Regions from separate parts of the Homo sapiens genome. Here all the other regions are linked to region 3. Evidence: promoter capture Hi-C in 16 types of primary human blood cells and fetal thymus (Javierre and others, 2016). All regions are on one chromosome and are shown on one strand. The core of a region is centred on a gene start or on the middle of the fragment in contact, and the rest is flanking DNA. Distances in the headings are between cores, read along the strand shown. Region 1 has its middle 8.9 kb from the start of LINC03135. Region 2 overlaps FKBP5 (FKBP prolyl isomerase 5). Region 3 holds the start of CLPS (colipase).

The links. Contacts are between HindIII fragments. The CHiCAGO score rates a contact against its expected background, and 5 or more counts as called.
Region 1: a contact is called between a fragment that was not itself captured here and the fragment with the promoter of CLPS in region 3, in 1 of 17 cell types (endothelial precursors). The highest score is 6.1, in endothelial precursors.
Region 2: a contact is called between a fragment that was not itself captured here and the fragment with the promoter of CLPS in region 3, in 1 of 17 cell types (M1 macrophages). The highest score is 5.2, in M1 macrophages.

Annotation. Positions count from the first base shown.
Region 1 is chr6:35,550,292-35,554,779 of GRCh38, reverse strand. No RefSeq gene overlaps it. Among named protein-coding and RNA genes, the nearest start is that of LINC03135, 8.9 kb to the right of the region's middle. The HindIII fragment of the contact is 1,968 bases long and covers 684-2,651 here.
Region 2 is chr6:35,570,591-35,575,162 of GRCh38, reverse strand. FKBP5 (FKBP prolyl isomerase 5) reads left to right here. Exons shown (of 11, transcript NM_004117.4): 11 at 1-1,573. Among named protein-coding and RNA genes, the nearest start is that of LINC03135, 29 kb to the right of the region's middle. The HindIII fragment of the contact is 3,206 bases long and covers 554-3,759 here.
Region 3 is chr6:35,794,786-35,799,062 of GRCh38, reverse strand. CLPS (colipase) reads left to right here and starts at 1,740. Exons shown (of 3, transcript NM_001832.4): 1 at 1,740-1,858; 2 at 3,210-3,332; 3 at 3,786-4,081. The coding sequence starts at 1,775. The coding sequence ends at 3,917. The HindIII fragment of the contact is 2,191 bases long and covers 1-1,916 here.

The DNA of each region.
Region 1 (4,488 bases), core at 418-2,917, 240 kb after region 3:
TTGATACTTCTTAAATTCCTTTACTGTCTTTTCAGAGGAAAGGGGCTTCCATGGGGAGAAGAGTGTATGTTAGGCCCACCATTTTTATTTTTTATTTATTTTTACTTATTTATTTTGAGATGGAGCCTGTTGCCCAGGCTGGAGTGCAATGGTGTGATCTCAGCTTACTGCAACCTCTGCTTCCTGGGTTCAAGCAATTCTTCTGCCTCAGCCTCCCAAGTAGCTGGGATTACAGGTGTGTGCCACCACACCTGGCTAATTTTTGTATCTGTAGTAGAGACAGGGTTTCACCATGTTGACCAGGCTGGTCTCAAACTCCTGACCTCAAGTGATTCGCCCGCCTCGGCTTCCCAAAGTGCTGGGATTATAGGTGTGAGCCACTGCACCCGGCCAGGGCCTCTATATTTAAACGGACACTGTGTAGGTATTTAGTCTAGAATGTACTTTGTATGGTGGAAGGTAAGGATCTAATATTAGCTTTTTCAGCACCACGTACCGCTTAGTCCATTCTTTCCTTCATGGTTTGTTATGCCACCTCTGTCAGAGCCAAACTCCTGCACCCGTTGGATTTCTTTCTAGGCTGCCAATTCTGTTCCATTAGGATGGATAAAGAGGGACAAAGACACACAGCTATCCATGTGCCAAGACCATAGTTTTAATCATGATAGCTGGTGGTGAAAGCTTATTCTTGTTCCTCTTCAAAATTGTTTTTGTTGGGTCAGGCACAGTGGCTCACGCCTGTAATCCCAACACCTTGGGAGGCTGAGGTGGGTGGATCACCTGAGGTCAGGAGTTCAAGACCAGCCTGGCCAACATGATGAAACCCCGTCTCTGCTAAAAATACAAAAATAGCCCGGTATGGTGGCCTGTGCTTGTAATCCCAGCTACTTCGGAGGCTGAGGCACAAGAATCGCTTGAACTTGGGAGGCAGAGGTTACAGTGAGCCCAGAGCATACCACTGCACTCCAGCTTGGGCGACAGAGCAAGACCCTGTCTCAAAAAAAGAAAAAAATTGTTTTTTTTGGACTTCTGGTTTGTGTATGGTAGAATAAAATTAGCATTTTCCTCCCTCCTCTCAAAAATCATGAGAAGCAACATGGAGAATGAGATACAGAAACATAAAATCCATTTCCAGTAAACCTAGGAGCTACCCGAGATCCTGAGTACTAAAATAGGCCAGAGTGCTGAAGGCAGCAGGGATCCAGCAGAGGGACAGGAGGAAGATCACAGAGGGTGCCTGTGGCTGCAGATAGAGCAGTAGCAACTGCAGAAGCAAACACTTGCACAGCATTTGCAATGACGCTGAGGCTCAGAAAGATGACGTGACTGCGCACAGTCACACAGTAAGCAGGTGACACGGGCAGAATTCAAACCCGGGCCATCTGGCCCCAGAGTCTGTGCCCATGACCTCTCTGCCTGGTTTCCCATCCCCCTACACACACCCAAATGTGAGAAGCAGCAAAGTGCATGCCTTGAGGGCGAGGGGCACACCCTAGTGTATAAAAATAAAATCTTGGCTGGGCACGTTGGCTCACGCCTGTAATCCCAACACTTTGGGAGGCCCAGGTGGGTGGATCACCTGAGGTTGGGAGTTCGAGACCAGCCTGACCAACATGGAGAAACCCCGTCTGTATTAAAAATACAAAACTAGCCAGGCATGGTGGCGCATGCCTGTAACCTCAGCTACTCGGGAGGCTGAGGCAGGAGAATTGCTTGAACCCAGAAGGCAGAGATTGCAGTGAGCTAAGATTGCGCCATTGCACTCCAGCTTGGGCAACAAGAGCGAAACTCCATCTCAAATAAATAAGTAAATAAATAAAATCTTTTTGCAGCAACTGGAGCAGATCAACAGCAGCTGCAAGAACACCCCTGGGTCTGCTTTGCTCCCAAGGAACAAAGCAAAAGCGGCCAATTGAGGAATCATGCAGGCAAGCCATATGTGATGGAATAAAGATGGCTGCAATTTCTTTGCCACTCCTCCCATGAAGAAGTGGAGTCTGTTTCCCCTCCCCTTGAATTTGGACAGGCTGTGTCACGCTTTGACCAATAGAAGGTGTCAGAAGTGATGTTGTGTGACTTTCAAGGTTGGTCTCCAGGACATCGGCAGCTTCCACTCTCAATACTTGAAACACTCCTTCTTGGAATGCAGTTGCCATGCTGTAAGGAAGCCCAAGATAGAACAAGGAAAAGCCCAGAACTGTAGCCTCAGCTAACAGCACCAGCTACCAGCTGTGAGTGGAACATCTTGGAAGTTACAGCCCAGTTGAGCTTCTGGATGCATGCAATTCCAGCCACCACCATGTGGAGGCAGAGTTGAGTCATACCCACAGAGCCTGCCTAAAATACAGAATTTTTATTTAAATGGTTGCTGCTGTCTTAAGCCACTACGTTTTGGGGTGATTTGTCATACAGCAACAGATAACTGAAATACCGTATTTGCAGAAATCAGACTGTGTGATGGGAGAAGAGTAGCTTTGCATTGTCAATTTTGTTAATCTTTTAAAAACCCAATTCTTGGTTTCACTGATTTACTCTATTGTTTTTCTATTCTCTATTTTATTTATCTGTACTCTAATTTTTATGATCTTATTCCCTCTACTTGCTTCTGGTTTAGTTTGATCTTCTTTTTCTAGTTTCTTAAGATGGAAGCTTAAGTTATTGATCTGAAGTATTTCTTTTCTTTTTTTTCCTTTTTTTTTTTTTCTCTCAGAGACACGGTCTCACTATGTCGCTAAGGCTGGAGTACAGTGGTTATTCACAGGCATGATCATCGCACATACAGCCTCAGACTCCTGGGCTAAGTGATCCTCCTGCCTCAGGGTCCGGAGCAGCTGGGTCTACAGGTGCACACTACTACCCCTGCTCAGATCTTTATTTTAAAAAAATTTTTTAGAGGCAGGGTCTCACTCCATCACCTGGACTGAGGTACAGCAGCATGATCATAGCATCCTGCAGCCTCAGACTCCCAGGATCAAGTGATCCTCCTGCCTCAGACTCCTGGGTAGCTGGGATTAGAGGTGTACACCACCATGCCTGGCTTTTTTTTTTTTTTTTTTTTTTTTTTTTGTAGAGACGATATATGTTTATCTGGGAATGTCTTAATTTCTCCATCTTCCCTCTGCCCTCTGGCTGCCATAGATTCTGATGGGGAATTACCTGTGAATCTTACTGAGGATGGCTGTCTGCAATGAGTAGTTTCTCTCTTGCTACTTCTTGCTACTTTCAAAATTTTGATTTTTTTTTAAGACAGTCTCACTCTGTCGTCCAGTCTGGAGTGCAGTGGCGCAATCTTAGCTCACTGCAACCTCCACCTCATAGGTTCAAGCAATTCTCCTGCCTCAGCCTCCCAAGTAGCTGGGACTACAGGCGCCCACTATCATACCCGGATAATTTTTTTTTTTGAGATGGATAATTTTTTTTTTTTTTTTTGGAGATGGAGTCTCACTCTGTCACCCAGGCTGGAGTGCAGTGGCACGATCTCGGCTCACTACAACCTCCACCTCCTGGGTTCAAGCAATTCCCTGCCTCAGCCTCCCAAGCAGCTGGGGTTACAGGTACCCACCACCACGCCCGGCTAATTTTTGTATTTTTAGTAGAGACAGGGTTTCACCATCTTGGCCAGGCTGGTCTTGAACTCCTGACCTTGTGATCCACCCACCTTGGCCTCCCAAAGTGCTGGATTTACAGGTGTGAGCCACCACACCCAGCCAATTTTTGTATTTTTAATAGAGATGGGATCTCACTATATTGCCCAGGCTGGTCTAGAACTCCTGACCTCAGGTGATCCACTGGACTTGGGCTCCCAAAGTGCTGGGATTACAGGCATCAGCCACAGCAACCAGCCATCAAAAGTCTCTTTGGCTTTGACTTTCAATCATTTGATTATAATGTGTCTAGGTGTGAATGTCTTTGAGTTTATTCTGCTTGAAGTAAACTATTAATGTTTTTAATAAAATGTGAGACACTTTTGGCCACTTTCTTCTTCAAATTTTTTCCTCACCTTTCTCTGTCTCTCTCCTTTGGGGACTCCCATTTTGTGTATGCTGGTATGTTTGATGATGTCCTACAGATCTTAGTCTGTTCCTTTTTCTTCATTCTCTCCTTTCCCCCTTCCTCAAACTAGATCATCTCAGCTAACCTATCTTCAAGGTCACTCATTCTTTGCCTGCTCAAATCTGTTGTTGAGCCCCTCTAGTGAATTTTTCATTTCAGTTATTGTGCTTTTCAACTCCAGAATTTCTACTTGGTTCTTTATTATAATTCCTATCTTTGTTGATATTCTGTTTGGTAAGTTATTCTTATACTTTCATTTAATTCTTTAGACACGGTTTTCTTAAGTTTTTTAAACTTTTTTTGAAATGGAGGTCTCACTATTTTGCCCAGGTTGGTCTCAAACTCCTGCAATCCTCCCACTTCAGCCTCCTGAGTAGCTGGGACTACAAGTGCCCACCACAGTGCCTGGCTAAACATATTTGAAATAGCTGATTA
Region 2 (4,572 bases), core at 907-3,406, 220 kb after region 3:
GTCCCTGGGGGAGTAATTCTGTCATTCCTAAAACACCCTTCAGCAATGATAATGAGCAGATGAGAGTTTCTGGATTAGCTTTTCCTATTTTCGATGAAGTTCTGAGATACTGAAATGTGAAAAGAGCAATCAGAATTGTGCTTTTTCTCCCCTCCTCTATTCCTTTTAGGGAATAATATTCAATACACAGTACTTCCTCCCAGCATTGCTACTGCTCAGCTTCTTCTTTCATTCTAATCCTTGCTATTAAGAATTTAAGACTTGTGCTTACAATATTTTTGACCTGGAGTGGATCTATTTACATAGTCATTTAGGATCCATGCAGCTTTTTTTGTCTTTTTAAGATTATTGGCTCATAAGCATATGTATACTGGTTTATGGAACTTTATTTACACTCCTCTATCATGCAAAAAAATTTTGACTTTTTAGTACTAAGCTTAATTTTTAAAAACAAAATCTGTAGGGTTGACAAATAAATAGTTGCTCTTCTACACTAGGGGTTTCACCTGCAGGTTTGACACGCAGTTGCTCGCTTTTCCTGCCCTGTCAAGCTTCTCTGTTCTGGCGTGAGTTGTGAAAGAGTTGAAGACAGCTTCCCATGCCGGTACACAGCCAGTAGCCTAAATCTCCAGTACTTGAGCTGACCATTGAACTAGGGCAAGTCTTAAATGTGTACATGTAGTTGAATTTCAGTCCTTACGGGTAAACAGATTGAGCATGGCTCTCTATTCCCTCAGCCTAAGAAACACTCATGGGAATGCATTTGGCAACCCAAGGAACCATTTGCTTAAACCTGGAACATCTCACCTTTTTAAATCCTAAAAAACACTGGCAGTTATATTTTAAATTAGTTTTTATTTTTATGATGGTTTTATCAAAAGACTTTTATTATTAGATTGGGACCCCCTTCAAACCTAAAAATCAAGTTATTTCCTTTTATAATACTTTTCTTCCCCATGGAACAAATGGGATCAATTTGTGAGTTTTTTCCTTTAATGATAACTAAAATCCCTCTAATTTCTCATTTATGCTTTTGTCTTTTTTATGAAATATTTCTTTTAAAAGCCCCAGTCTCACCTACGAAATATGAAGAGCAAAAGCTGATTTTGCTTACTTGCTAAACTGTTGGGAAAGCTCTGTAGAGCATGGTTCCAGTGAGGCCAAGATTGAAATTTGATACTAAAAAGGCCACCTAGCTTTTTGCAGATAACAAACAAGAAAGCTATTCCAAGACTCAGATGATGCCAGCTGTCTCCCACGTGTGTATTATGGTTCACCAGGGGGAACTGGCAAAAGTGTGTGTGGGGAGGGGAAGGGTGTGTGAGTGGTTCTGAGCAAATAACTACAGGGTGCCCATTACCACTCAAGAAGACACTTCACGTATTCTTGTATCAAATTCAATAATCTTAAACAATTTGTGTAGAAGTCCACAGACATCTTTCAACCACCTTTTAGGCTGCATATGGATTGCCAAGTCAGCATATGAGGAATTAAAGACATTGTTTTTAAAAAAAAAAAATCATTTAGATGCACTTTTTTGTGTGTTCTTTAAATAAATCCAAAAAAAATGTGACTTCCCATTGTTTTTGGTTTTGCTTAAGTGATTTTCAGGGAAAGCTATATTGGTTAAAAAACCATGGTGGGGGCCAACTTGAAGAAATTAGACATCAGAGAGGTCAGGCGTAGTGGCTCATGCCTGTAATCCCAGCACTTTGGGAGGCCAAGGCAGGTGCATCACCTGAGGTCAGGAGTTTGAGACCAGCCTGGCCAATGTGGTAAAACCCTGTCTCTACTAAAAATACAAAAATTAGCCAGGTGTGGTGGTGCACACCTGTAATCCCAGCTACTCAGGAGGCTGAGGCAGGAGAATCACTTGAACCTGGGAAGTGGAAGTTGCAGTGAGCCAAGATTGTGCCACTGCACTCTGGCCTGGGTGACAGTGAGACTTGGTCTCAAAAAAAAAAAAAAAAAAAAAAAATCAGAAAATCGGCAATGGACAGTATCATCCTACACTTTGCTCTAAGGTGAACCTGAAACCAACATTGGGGTGAAAGTGGCAGAACAATGCATCGTTGCTAAAAAGAACCAAGTAATGGGAAAAATAAAAAGGTTTTGTTTTTTCATTAGCCAGCGGATATTTCACCTTTTTAAGCTGATTTTAAGGTAGGCTCGACTTGCAAAATAAAATTTAATTGTGCCCTTTAATAAATATATGAAACATAAGTAAGGCTATCTAAGGTGGTGGTCCATATTGAGCATGCATTTTCTTTCTTAAGTAGCATATATCATCAATACTCATCATCACAGACTCTCAAGGCCTAAGGAGATGTCACATATACTGCAAATCCTCATTTTCACACTGCAAAAGAAGGTGGCACAGTGCTGGAAGGTACTTAGTAGGACCTCTGAGGTCTACAGACAGGTTGATGCAGGTTCTAGGCACCCTTTATTCCCTCTGAATTCTTGGCTTCATCTCTGGATTTGAATTATATTTCTCCCTCCTCCCTGTTAAATTATTTGGTAATGAAATAAATTCCTAGCTAGGTGCGGTTGCTTATGCTTATAACCCCAGCACTTTGGGAGGCCGAGGTGGGCAGGTTGCTTGAGCCCAGGAGTTCGAGACCAGCCTGGGCAACATGGCAAGACCCTGTCTCTACAAAAAGTACAAAAATTAGACAGACATGATGGTATGCACCTTTAGGCCCAGTTACAGGCTGAGGTGGGAGGATCACTTGAGCCCTGGGAGGTTGAGGCTGCAGTGAGCCATGATCATGCCACTGCACTCCAGCCTGGGTGACAGAGCAAGACCCTATCTCAACCATAATAAATTCCCTTTATTTGCGTGCTTTTTTTTTGTAAGAAAATAATGATCACCCTAGGGATCTTGAGGATGAGCCAGAGAAGATTCCTGGCTGTAAATGTGTGATCTCAGAAATTCAGAGGCAGCTTGCACAACCTCCAAAACGAGGACTGCCAGTGAAGGGCTTTGTCTATACTTACTTGGCCTTAGCAGCACACTGAACTCCACTTTTAGTATGGTACATGTGAAGCCTGTATTCTCTGGGGCTGGAGACTATCTCCAGTATTGGTGACAAAACGCATTGAATTTGAGCCAGTTAGTCAAAATCCTGAAACTCAGAATTCCCCAACCCAGCTGTGTATTTTTTCCATCAGCTGGCTACTTATGCATCTGAATGACAGTGACTGACGAAAGTACATAAAAGGACATTCTCTGATGGCTTGAAAAGTTTTGGTAGACCTTCAGTACTTCCCTTCAGATTTTTCTCTACTACATGTCTGACATGGAGATTTCTGTGGGAGGAGAAGGCACTATCTGTAATTGCCCAGAATCTCCACGTGTGACCTTAATAATACACGGCAAGAAAGAGACAGCGTTAAATACAACTCTTAAGATTTTTGACAGCATCTTGTTTGGGTAACTGCAGCCTATAGTTAGAAAAATTAAAGCACAGTTTATAAGGCAGGGATTCTTTGTCTTCTAAAGATGAGGGAACCTTGGAGAATCAAGAATATGGGGAGGACCCAGAATGGTGATGCAGCCTGCCCATGGCCGTCAGGTCACCTGATGCCCTTGCACCATTTTAAAATAGGTCTTTTTCTAGTATGATGAGTGATGCTCTTGGTGTATGGAAGGAGATGTTGGTACTTCCTTAGAATTCCCACATTCGGTGGAACTGAAATGGCAGCAGAGCCATGGGCCTCATAGTCTACTTTGGAATAAATCTATGGTGGGAAGCTTGCCAACGTGTTAAGCAGAGGCATCTTTTTAAAATACACTTTAGGGGCCAGGGATGGTGGCTCACACCTGTAATCCCAGCACTTTGAGAGGCTGAGGCAGGAGGATTGCTTGAGGCCAGGAGTTCAAGACCAGCCTGGGCAACATAGTGAGACCCCATCACTACCACACACACACACACAAATTAATTAGCTACACATGGTGGTGCATGCCTATAGTCCCAGCTACTTGAGAGGCTGAGGTGAGAGGATACTTGAAGCCATGAGTCGTAGGCTTCAGTGAGCTATGATCACGCCACTGCACTCCAGCCTGGGCAACAGAGTGAGACCTTGTCTCTAAAATTAGAAAAAAAAATGTGGCTGCTACATTGTTTCCACCTCTCAAATCTCCACAAGGTCATTGGTCCTTGCTAACCCAGAACTAAGCAGGGAAGGAATTCTGGGACATGTGTTTCCAACTTGGCTTAGTTGACACATTGCAAATACAACATGTGGCTAAGGCTTTCTTTTTTGTTTTTGTTTTTGAGAGGGAGTTTTGTTCTTGTTGCCCAGGCTGGAGTGCAGTGGCACAATCTCGGCTCACTGCAACCTCTGCCTCCAGTATTCAAGTGATTCTCCTGCCTCAGCCTCCTGAGTAGCTGGGATTACAGGTGTCTGCCACCACACCCAGCTAATTTTTTGTATTTTTAGTAGAGATGGGGTTTCACCATGTTGGCCAGGCTGGTCTCGAGCTCCTGACCTCAGGTGATCAACTTGCGTCAGCCTCCCAAAATGCTGGGATTACAGGCGTGAGCCACCGGGTCCGGTCTGTATCTA
Region 3 (4,277 bases), core at 491-2,990:
CTGCATCGCTGGAACCAAATTGGTTTTTCTCATTTTGAGAGTCTCCTGGTTGTTCCTCCAGCTATTTCTCTACATTCCACACCCCAGGGATGTAAAGGTGAGAGGAAGGGGGTCATATTACATGGCTGGGCACCCACCATGTGCCAGGCACTTCCGAAGGTGTTCCACGTGCATTGTCTTAATCATGACCTCAGGAAGTAGGAGGCGTTATCCCCCTAAGATAAATAAGGAAAGTGAGGTTCAGGGAGCTTCACTTTCAATAATGTGTCTGAGGCCACGTAGCTCCAGTAAATGCTGAATTTTGAAGCCAGCTTGGTCTGGATCAAAGCTGTGCTTGAGGCTGGGCACAGTGGCTCACACCTGTAATCCCAACACTTTAGGAGGCCGAGGTGGGAAGATTGCTTGAGCCCACGAGTTTTAGACCTGGGAGGCTTAGGGGGAAGATTGCTTGATCTCAGGAGGTGGAGGCTGCAGTGAGCCAAGATGGCACAACTGCACTTCGGCCTAGGTGACAGAGTGAGACCTTGTCTCAAAAAATTAAATTAAATTAAATTAAAAGCTGTGCTTGAGGCCTGGGCCTCTCAGTGGAGCTGTCTTCTACCTCCTGGGATGGAGAGGGGAAGGGCAGGGGCCTCTGGCTGCCATGACTAGTCCTTCAGGAAAAGCTGCTCTGTTCCCATGCCTGAGCAAACTCAGGCAGCTGTGCCCTTCCCAGCTTCCTGAGGCCCCTGCTCCATCTGAGGCTCATGAGACCTCTTCATTCTCAGCCAGGACTAGCGACTGCTCACGCGCGCACGTGGCCTTGGGTAGGGGGCAGCGTGAGTGGAAACCTTAACTAAAGGGGTGAGTATCTGATGCTGGAATTGCAGATAGTAAGTGAGGTAGAAAGGAAAGGGGAGAGAGGCATTTAGGAAGGGCCTCCTAAGGGCCCTTGAGTCAGGCCTGCAGGCAGCCCCTGGTGTGAGGGCAGGGGGAGGGTGCCAAAGTGAAAGCACACACACCCTGGCCTGCTGGGGGTTGCAGAACTGTCAGCCCCAGGGATCTGGGCATGGCCTGGAATCCCCCGAGGAGACTGAAGGAAGGTTGAGGGGTGGGAGGCTAGGATCCTCGTCCCTGGAGTCTGACACTGCTAGACACCTGGGCTTGGGTGGGCCAAAGGCAAGGCCTGACTATAGTGAGGCAGAGAGGCCCCAAGTACACAGAATGTAAGCAGGCACTCACACCATAGGTGCCTCTCTTGCCTTGGATTCGTCCAGGCACTGCCCAGGAGCTCAAGACACAAGGGCAGCCACCCTTACCCACTGCTTATGTGGCATATGGGAATATACAATATAAATATATTCTTATAATTGTATATAATAATGTTTATATATATGTAACACATAAATGTGTATTAATTCAACCCTCACAACTCTTTAAATTATCCTTAGTTGACAGATAAGATGAAAGGCAGAATAGTTGGAACAGATAGTAAGTTTGCCTCACTAATAACTTGTACACAGTCCATACTCTTAACCACGATGCAACACAATTATCACCAACACACACACACACACACACACACACACACACACACACACGAAAAAGGCCACCAGGTACTCACCCAGTTTCCTTATCAGGAACCGCCCCACAGCAGATTGGCCACAGCTGTGCCTCTGCCCACGGCCAGCCCTGTGGGATGCAGGTGGATCTCGTGAGGTCAGGGCCCCTTTTATAGCCCCATCACCACAGCTGGCTCTGTCTCCCGCCACCCACACCAGCTGTCCCACTCACCATGGAGAAGATCCTGATCCTCCTGCTTGTCGCCCTCTCTGTGGCCTATGCAGCTCCTGGCCCCCGGGGGATCATTATCAACCTGGTAAGAGGGTCTTCAGGGGAGGCGCCTCCTGAGTCCCCAGATGAAGACTTCCTAAGCTTGGACCTTGACCTCTGATGTCTCCACCTGGACTGGCAGGGGCTGGGAGGAGTGGCATCTTGCATCCCTCTGTTTACTTCCATGTCCTGTCCTATGCCTCTTCCCAGAGGCCACAGGAAAGGCTGATCAGCCCCTCTCCAGCTCCAACTGGAGCATGCTCAGAGCAGCAGCTCAACCTGGCTATGAGGGACCTTTTTTTTCTTTTTTTTCTTTTTGAAACGGAGTCTTGCTCTGTCACCAGGCTGGAGTGTAGTGGCACAATCTCGGCTCACTGCAATCTCTGCTTCCCGGGTTCAAATGATTCTCCTGCCTCAGCCTCCCAAGAAGCTGGGATTACAGGTGCCTGCCATAACGCTCAGCTATTTTTTGTATTTTTAGTAGAAATAGGGTTTCACCATGTTGCCCAGGCTAGTCTCAAACTCCTGACCTCGTGATCCGCCCACCTCGGCCTCCCAAAGTGCTGGGATTACAGGCATGAGCCACCTCACCTGGCCCTACGAGGGAGCTTTGTAAAAATCCAGAGCCCTGGGCTTCCATCCTGAGAAAATGCTTTGCGCCAATCATTCCAGCTTCTGACTTATGGAGATGCCTCGGAGATGTTTACTCATTCTGTTCTCATAATAACCACTGAGGGAGGTGTTTTCAGAGTCAGCCCTGTCTTCAGACAGAGAGAGGGTGAGCAACCTGCCTGAGGTCACATAGCTGGAAAGTGGTTCAGCTGGGGCCCCACCACTGCCCCACACCACCTCTCCACCATGGGTCTTGGCTGGGAAAGCCCTTCCAGAACGTCCATGCGGTTGAAAGGTTCTGAACTCTCTTAACTTGGGGCCATGGCTGGACTTGGAGGTCCAGGACCCTTGGAGATTATAGATCAGATCTGTTGGGGGAGGAAGGAGTCTTGCAGGGAGATGCAATCTTCACCGCCTCCTTAAAGAGGTGTGGGACCCAGAGTGGTTTGGAGAACTTGTCTAGGGGCCTTGTGTGCACATTCCAAATGGGAACACTGAGGCTTGGGAGGCAGTGACTTGCCCAGAGTCACACAGGAGGTTGGTAGCACAGCCGGTACTAGAACCCAGGGGTCCTGACCCTCTGTGCAAGTCTGCTTCTCTGTCACCGCATGCCCACTTCTCACGTGGGTGGGGGGCACAGAGGCCACCAGACCCAGGGGATGGACTCCTTCACACACATCCCTACCAGGGGAGACACTGTTAGTGGTAGTGTGTGGTGGGTACAGGTCTGAATGGAGAAGGGACCTGAGGGAGTGGGGCCTGGGCTGACTGGCTGCTCCTGGCAGGAGAACGGTGAGCTCTGCATGAATAGTGCCCAGTGTAAGAGCAATTGCTGCCAGCATTCAAGTGCGCTGGGCCTGGCCCGCTGCACATCCATGGCCAGCGAGAACAGCGAGTGCTCTGTCAAGGTGGGTGCCTGAGGACTTGGCGTGGGTGGGGGAGAATGGGGAGTAGGGCCCTGAACACTTGTGAGTGGGATCAGGGAGGGGGGTCAGCCTGGACACTGAATGTTGAGGAGACGAGAGGGAGGTCGACAGGTGTCAAAGCACTTTCCCATCCCATCATCTCTCTTGACCCTCCCGAGTGACCAGTGAGATGGGTGGGGGTGGGGATTTGTTATCCCCATTTCATGGCTGGGTAAATAGAGGCTCCCCAGAGAGATCAAGCTAGTAAGAGCAAATGAGCCAGAGCAGAGGTCAGAGCTGGGGTCTCCAGGGCCCACGGCACCCCTGGGGAGGCAGGTGGGAGAGGCACTCCCCGAAAACACAGGCTGGCCTACTGGTTCTCTAGGTCAGGCAGGGGACAAGTGATGTCCAAAGTATCTCCCCATAGCCTTGACTCCATTGGCTGTGTCTCTGCAGACGCTCTATGGGATTTACTACAAGTGTCCCTGTGAGCGTGGCCTGACCTGTGAGGGAGACAAGACCATCGTGGGCTCCATCACCAACACCAACTTTGGCATCTGCCATGACGCTGGACGCTCCAAGCAGTGAGACTGCCCACCCACTCCCACACCTAGCCCAGAATGCTGTAGGCCACTAGGCGCAGGGGCATCTCTCCCCTGCTCCAGCGCATCTCCCGGGCTGGCCACCTCCTTGACCAGCATATCTGTTTTCTGATTGCGCTCTTCACAATTAAAGGCCTCCTGCAAACCTTTCCCAGTCTCCTGCATATTCTTTCTGACTCAGCATCTTCTCTGAAGTTGCATCAGGCCTTTGGTCCACCAGGGCAGGCTTCAGGCAGGTCAGAAGAACAAGGGATGGGTCTGGGGCTGAAGAAGTTGTGGCCAAACAGATTGGAGACTGAAGACAAAGCTGTGAAGGAGACCCAGCCAGCCTAGGAAACCCTCCATT